Linked DNA regions of Homo sapiens: region 1 is linked to region 2. The links are contacts of gene promoters, found by promoter capture Hi-C in human tissues and cell types (Jung and others, 2019). All regions are on one chromosome and are shown on one strand. Each heading gives the region's core, a stretch centred on a gene start or on the middle of the fragment in contact. The rest is flanking DNA. Distances are from core to core; before and after follow the strand shown.

Region 1 (3,644 bases), core at 920-3,419, 98 kb after region 2:
AAGGACCCATAATGGCCACCAACTCACCACTATTGAACTTCCCGGAAATTCCTTTCAGGAGGGTCTTGTATCCTGCAAAAAAGCAGATCATATTCATATTCATTTCATTTTATCTCTAATGCAGTAAATATGCAAATGTTCAAGTACACATGACCAAGGCCAAAGGCAACCTTTGACATGCATCATAGAAAAGGCTGCATTCCAGGGAAGAACATGAACTTCATGTCTTTCGAATTCCCTGGTCTACGTCTTCAATTGCATTTCACAGGTTATAATAATGATAATAATTACCAGCACGTGTGTAATGCTTTAGAGCTCACAAAGCACTTTCCCACTCATTGTCTAGTCTATGGGGAATCCACCATTCCCGTCTCAGAGTGAGGAAGCGATGTCCGGTGGGCCCAGGTGACCTGCCCAAGCCCTCGGCCAGTATGGGCAGAACCCAGCTCTGAGCTGCAGCACTACCAGCTTGCTCCTGCCCCGAGATGCCATGCATGTGTCTGTTTTAATTAATAATTCACTTACTGCATCTACAAATTATTTATTTATGCTTTATATATTTACATAAGTATAAATTATGTATATATGATTTATTTATAAATAATCAACATATGATTAAATAATCAATATATTATTAATCCCTTAATTAATAATTAAGAAAGTTTGTCATTTTGGAGCCACACCAAACTGCTTTGGAATTTCTGCCAAGTCTCCATCTGAGAGCTTTATAAAAGGGGAAAAGCTGCACATCCCAAGCAAAGCCACATTAATTTTTTTTCAAATAGACTGTTTAAAAGTGCTGTAAATAATAAAACAGAAGCAACTGGATGCATAGATAATGTCTCCCAATCCAGGGGCACTTTTTTTTTTTTTTTTTTTTTTGAGACTGAGTCTTGCTCTGTCGCCCATGCTAGAGTGCAGTGGCACAATCTTGGCTCACTGCAAGTTCCGCCTCCCGGGTTCACACCATTCTCCTGCCTCAGCCTCCCGAGTAGCTAGTACTAGAGGCGCCTGCCACCATGCCTGGCTAATTTTTTGTATTTTTAGTAGAGACAGGGTTTCACCGTGTTAGCCAGGATGGTCTCAATCTCCTTGTGATCCGCCCGCCTCGGCCTCCCAAAGTGCTGGGATTACAGGCGTGAGCCACCGCGCCCGGCCCAGGGGCACTTCTCAGTGTAGTATCAGATCAGAATCCACTGTTAAATGATCAAGAATCACGTGAATGCCATTTTAGCTTCCACACGTTTCAGGGGACCTAATGAGACAGGGACCTGTGGGGTCCTTGGCCCAGTCCCGTGTTTTAGACTTTCTCCCGGTCCCCAGCTGGGCACCCAAGCCTTTATGTTTCCAAGAGTCTGGCCCAGGGGAGTTTGCTCCCAGCTGTCTTCCTGTCTTTCATAGATAGGACACCGGAAAATGCCAACCTGCCACCAGGTGCCGCCTTAATTTGGATGTGGAGTCCCTGAGGCCTTGTTTAGGGGAGTCAGAGAGCTGCGGAAGCCAGTCAGGAAGCTTGGGACTGCCACTCATTACAGACAGGGCGGTTGTCGCCCCAGGGAGGGTGAGGAGAGTCATCCCAGCGGGGGTAGGGGCACAGGAAGAAAGGGCTGGGGCTGGAGAGCAGCTCAGAGCTGCGGGTGAACCAGCTCGTACAATAGGACTGTGGATGACAATGCTTACAAACACACAGCACTTGAGGCCTACACAGATTAGCGGGGCTGGAGGAGGACCGGGAACCCCAAGAATAGCCCTTCTGCTGAGCCATGGGTGCCCCTCAGTGGACAGGCAGACAGAGGAGCTGGGGACCACATAGACACTTCCTCCACAGGAGCAAGCTCTCTGCACCATGGAGTACTGCGGCACTTCGGGCACCCAGGCCCCCGGGGACCCACGCGATATCCCCAAGAAAGCACTAAGTGCTGGGTACCTGCTTTACCATCTCTTGTCTATTCAGGGTGGAAGTGGGGCTACTCCCCAGCAAACCTCCCTTAGGCTGTGTCCTCTCAAACTTATGAGCTGCCTGAAGACGCCTGGTCACTGAGCTCACCAGCAGCCATCATCTGACTATGGCCACGACCCACCTGAGGGTTCATGCCTCGGGCTCTGAGAAGCCTCTCTCCCTCCGTCCAGGGCAGGCAGGGCCCACCTCTCTTTCTGGGCACAGCCTCTGAGCTCTCACCTTTGACAGTGCCTGGGGCTGACCCTCAGTGCTGGGGCTCACTGGGGCACCCGATGATCACCCTGGCTGGAGGAAGCACATACAGGCTGCAATGACCCCCAGGACCCCAGGAACAGGACATGGCATGGAGGCTGGGAGCATTCGGCCCTCTCATGGGAAGAGCAGGACAGGTGGTCTCAGGCTGGTCTTGCTATTGAGAACCAGCAAACTGGAATTTGCACCAAACAGAGAGTGCACACAACTGGGGCTGCAGAGGTCCACTCCACCTGGCCCTCATGGGGTCCAGCAGTGGACACAAAACCCAATTCAGGGCTGTACTTCTCTAATATTAGAAACTTATTTTTCTTTCTTTCTTTTTTTTAAAAAAAGACATGCATTTGGAATTGAAGAATCTTAAAAGTGGCTCTGGAAACAAAGTCCAGTAAACATTAGTCTGCCCTGCTGTGGGACAGCCCGGGTACAACAGTGACCTTGTGCACATCTAAAAGTGAGTCCTGGGCTGAGGGGCCCAGGAAACACCAGCCAGAGGCTTCCTGTGGTAGTCGGGTTTCCTGAGTATCCAGCGCGCGCGCGCACACACACACACACACACACACACACCCCTACCTCTATTTATGTAAGGAAATCACCCTCCCCGCAGAGTCCTCCACTTGGTTCCCATTACAGAAATATAAAGCGAAGATGCGACCATCCCACCCCGCCTGCCCTACTTTCCCACCCCTGAGCTCTGCTCAGCCCACTTCTTGGCATAATGGACATGCACCTGCCTCCCTGTCCTTGTGGGCTCTCGTTCACAGGGCACACTGTCTTCCACTGTTTTTCTGGCTGGGATAGTGAGTGCCCAGGATAACAAGTGCAGAGACTGCCAGAGCCAGGCCCAGTGAAGGCCCATCAGCCCCGTGCAGGATGCCCAGGTTCAGTATTTGAAACAGCCAGATGGTAGCCCAGACCAGAGCTTAGACACAACCCAGGCCAGACCAGAGCCGCAGACTAGAACAGCCAGACCAGAACTTAGACAGAACCCAGACCACACCCAGACAGAACCCAGACCACACCCAGACAGAACCCAGACCACACCCAGACAGAACCCAGACCAGACCCAGATCAGACCCAGACAGAACCCAGACCAGACCCAGACAGAACCCAGACCACACCCAGACAGAACCCAGACCAGACCCAGACAGAACCCAGACCACACCCAGGCAGAACCCAGACCACACCGAGACAGAACCCAGACCAGACCCAGATAGAACTCAGACCAGACCCAGACAGAACCCAGACCAGACCCAGACAGAACTCAGACCAGACCCAGACAGAACCCAGACCACACCCAGACAGAACCCAGACCACACCCAGACAGAACCCAGATCAGACCCAGAAAGAACCCAGACCACACCCAGACAGAACCCAGAGCAGACCCAGACAGAACCCAGACCAGACCCAGACAGAACTCAGACCACACCCA
Region 2 (4,147 bases), core at 343-2,842:
CGAAAACCACCGTCACTATGAGCACCACCCTGGGCCTGGTGCCCCCGTCCTGTTTTCAATAAACTTAAGCTGACCACAGAGGACACCAGGCCTCGGCCCCTCCCTGGGTCCTGCGGTCAGGCCCCTCCTGGAGACCCTGGCCCAGGAGTGGAGACCCCGGTGCAGGAGTGGCAGCCCTGGAGGAGGGGCTGGGTCCTGGGATGGAGCGAAGAGGAACATGGCCGCCCCCATTCTGGCCCAGGCTCCCCTCCCAGAGGGGCTGCAGAAATGTACTGACTAGGTCACCCAAGAAAAGATAGTACCTTTGTTAGGCTAGCATGCATTTTCCTCAGGGCCTAATTTCTCACTGAAGAAGAAAAGATTTCTCCTGTTGTCCATTTCTTCATGCAGCTCTTCAACAGCTGTTTCTCGAATGCCAATCAAAGCCACTGTTCTAGGGTCTGGGGCCACCTCAAGGCACTAGGAGATGAGGACTTCTGCTCCCATGCGCCCTCCCGTCTGCTGCAGGGAGGAGTGCAATGAATAAATAACCAACATAATGTGTCAGTCACTTGTTTTATCCACCAGGAGGTAATAAGAGCTATGAAAGAGAAAGCTCCGAGCAGGGGAGGGGAGTGAGGCATGGTACAGGAGAGCAGGAGGCTGTCCTCTAAAATACAGGAGTCCAGGGGACCAACTGGGAAGGTGTGGGAGGGGGAGGGAGGGAGCCCCATAGACACAGGGGAGTGAACCACGTTCACTTTGTCAGTTTTTGATGGCAGCTCGTATATACTATTTTTTTCTCCCTCCTGCCCCCAGCCCCTCCCAGAAGGAGACTTAATCTGTCGCTCAGGCTGGAGTGCAGTAGGGTGATCTCGACTCACTGCAACCTCCGCCTCCCAGGTTCAAGTGATTCTCCTGACTTAACCTCCAGAGTAGCTAGGATTACAGGCACCCGCCACCATGCCTGGCTAATTTTTGTATTTTTTTTTTTTGTAGAGACGGGGTTTCGCCATGTTGGCCAGGCTAGTCTCAAACTCCTGACTTTAAGTGATCCGCCTGCTTTGGCCTCCCAAAGTGTTGGGATTACAGGCGTGAGCCACTGCGCCAGGCCTACAATTTCATTATTAAAACAATTCCACTGTAAAAGAATTAGCTTAGGCCTAGACGGAATGGGCTTCATGAGCTCCTTCCCTTCCCCCTGCAAGGTCACGGTGGCCACCCCGTGAGCCACTGTTGTCACGGCCAAGCCTTTTTCCGGCCATCTCTCACTATGAATCACTTCTGCAGTGAGTACAGTATTTACCCTGGCGGGAGGGCCTCTCAGATATGAGTAGGACCTGGATTAAGGTCAGGTTGGAGGAGACTCCCATGGGAAAGAGGGACTTTCTGAATCTCAGATCCCTCAGCCAAGATGACCTCACCACATGTCGTCTCTGTCTATCAGCAAATCCTTCCATGTAGCTTGACCATGTCTAGGAAACACCTTTGATAAAAATCAGTGGAGATTATTGTCTCAGAGGATCCCCGGGCCTCCTTAGGCAAATGTTATCTAACGCTCTTTAAGCAAACAGAGCCTGCCCTATAAAATCCGGGGCTCGGGCGGCCTCTCATCCCTGACTCGGGGTCGCCTTTGGAGCAGAGAGGAGGCAATGGCCACCATGGAGAACAAGGTGATCTGCGCCCTGGTCCTGGTGTCCATGCTGGCCCTCGGCACCCTGGCCGAGGCCCAGACAGGTAAGGCGTGCTTCTTCCTGCTCTGTGGGGCCACAGCCAGCTCTGGCAGCCTCCGCCAGGAGCCACTGTTTTACATACATATTTTTGAGCACCTGTTTTGTGCCAGGTGCTGTTCTAGGCCCTTAAAAGTATATCCAATTTACAGGATCGGCAAAAGCAGGTGGAGAGTAACTCAGGGTGGCAGGGCCCCCGGAGACCTTCGAGAAGTGCGACGAGGAGGGGGCTGCCTTCAGTCGGGGCTGTTTTCCTGTGTTAGGAAGACTATACAATCCTCCCAAGTGTCATGTTTCAAAGAGGAAGTGTTGGCGTGGGGTCTCAGAATAGTGCTTTTGACTGTTCATGCCAACATCTCCCCCAGGGGCAGACCCTCCCAAGGCCCATCCAGATAGGCCCAAATGCCGGTCCCAGTGATGGCCACCTGGGAGACCCTCTCCCACAGGCCCGAATGCCCGTCCCAGTGGTGGCCAACTGGGAGACCCTCTCCTACAGGTTCCTGGGCTCCCCTGGGATCCATGCTCTGGGAGTCAAAGCCACCTCTCTCATGAGTGCGTGGCTGGCAACCCATATTCCCTGGTGTTGTCAAGTGGATCGGTTGCCCTGGGTCCTTCTAGGGAGTGGAGGAGGAGGCCATTCTTGCTTCCTTGGGAAGTGTTTGCATCTCAACTCCTTTACCTGCAGAATGGATCAACGGTCTGCCCTAGGGCTGTCAGGAAATGCTGTGTGGCAGCATCTGCGACTTGCACTTTGCCAGCTGTGGGGAGCTGAATAACTTATTTGCCGTTATTAGGTACAGTTTCAAGGTGGGGGCAGGAGAAAGGGCTTTCTACGTTTCCAAAGCAAGGGTTTCCAGAGAGGCCTGAAGAGGGAGCGCCCAGTGGTGCTGTCCGTGCCCCCACTGCCCTCCAGCCACCTCTTGATCTCTGCTGTGGGGTACCGGGCCTGAGGGGTGGGCTTGGGCAGCGTAGAAGAGCAGCCAGCATTGGGCTGCAGTGGGAAGACCCCCAAGCCCATGGCAGGGAGCGGGGGAGCTTTGGAACCCGAGAGAGGAAGTGGCCTCGGTGTACAGAACGAACTGGGTGGGTCCCCGTGCTGGCCACCCCCAGGCCCATCTGCCTGCGCCCTTGCCCCCACCCCAGCCCCCAGCTCTGCCCCCTGTGCTGTGGGATCACAGAGGCCGTGGCAAACTCCCCTCCCCACCCCACACACCCTCTGGCTCAAGGCTCAGAGCGTCTTTGCGGGTCACTCAGGTCCATGATCCTGTTACAACTGAAATCTAGAAAATTGTGATTACAGTTTAGTGCATTCGTGTGTGGAAACCATTTCCATTTATTTCCATCATGCGACAAAGACAAAGCGGGTGGGCAAGACAGAGTCTGCCGGAGGCAGAGCACCGGGGCTGGAAATCTTCCTCCCTGAGGAGGAAACCCCCCCGACCCCCAGGATGATGATCCTCCCTCACCACGGGGCCTCTCTTGACCCCCACAGTGTCCCGGGGGTGGGCGATGATCACCTTCACGTCGCGATGGATCCAGACCCCAGGAGGGCAAGGTTCCCATGGAAGCTGCTGGGCAGCGGGAGCTGAACACGGATCCTTCCCAGCAAGCCAGGAACACTTTCTCCAAAGACATCTCGAGGCAGTCCCTGATAGCAAAGCAGACAAGAGAACAGCCCCTCTCGGCCTCCCCTGGGGCGCCCTCACCTGAGCCAGTGTGGCCAGACTGAGTTCCTCCCCTCCTATGCCCCAAGGCAGGGACAGGGACCGGAGGGTGCTCTGGGCTCCTCTTTCACCCCCTGCTGCAGGCTGTCAACCACCAGATCCTAATAGGTTGCTTTCTGAGACCTTTGATTCCGCGGAGCTCAGAGCCTGAAGCTCTGGTGTTAGAACCTCTTGCATAAGATCCTGCGGCAGCCCCCAGCCAGCCCCATCTGTCCACGTGTCTTCCTCCTCTAGATCCCTTTCCTCACTGCCCTGCTTCAAGCTGTTTCACAGCTTGTACCCTCTGTCGGCTCCTCCTAGACCACCCCACCCGGTCCTCTCACCTTACCTGCAATGGGTTTCCACCTCCTGAACACACCTGGGTCTCTGGAATGGCCTTTGCCCATGCGGCTCCATCTTCACCTGGTGAACCTCCTCCTGCAGGGAGCCCCCCTGCTTTGTTCAACCTGCTTGTCATTGGCCTCTCCGGGGAGTGCCCTACCCCCGTGGTTACCCTGGGCACCCTGGGACGATGGCCTTGCGTTGTCTCGCACATGTTCTTGCCTTTCTCCTCCATCAGATCCTTAGACTCTTTTTTTTTTTTTTTTGAGATGGAGTCTTGCTCTGTCACTCAGGCTGGAGTGCAATGGTGCGATCTTGGCTCACTACAACCTCTGCCTCCTGGGTTCAAGTGATTCTCCTGCCTCAGCCTCCCAAGTAGCTGGGATTACAGAC

Evidence for each region. Contacts are between HindIII fragments. The study calls those that stand out against the background at their distance.
Region 1: a contact is called between a fragment that was not itself captured here and the fragment with the promoter of TFF1 in region 2, in 2 of the 25 tissues and cell types used here (IMR-90 fibroblasts and lymphoblastoid cells).

Annotation. Positions count from the first base shown.
Region 1 is chr21:42,267,498-42,271,141 of GRCh38, reverse strand. It overlaps ABCG1 (ATP binding cassette subfamily G member 1), which reads right to left. Exons shown (of 15, transcript NM_016818.3): 3 at 1-72. Among named protein-coding and RNA genes, the nearest start is that of TFF3, 46 kb to the left of the region's middle. The HindIII fragment of the contact is 6,788 bases long and covers 1-3,644 here.
Region 2 is chr21:42,363,980-42,368,126 of GRCh38, reverse strand. TFF1 (trefoil factor 1) reads left to right here and starts at 1,592. Exons shown (of 3, transcript NM_003225.3): 1 at 1,592-1,716. The coding sequence starts at 1,632. It overlaps LOC105372815 (a long non-coding RNA gene), which reads right to left. Exons shown (of 3, transcript XR_937755.3): 3 at 3,015-4,147. RefSeq lists an enhancer at 1-544 and a silencer at 1,171-1,270. The HindIII fragment of the contact is 32,159 bases long and covers 1-4,147 here.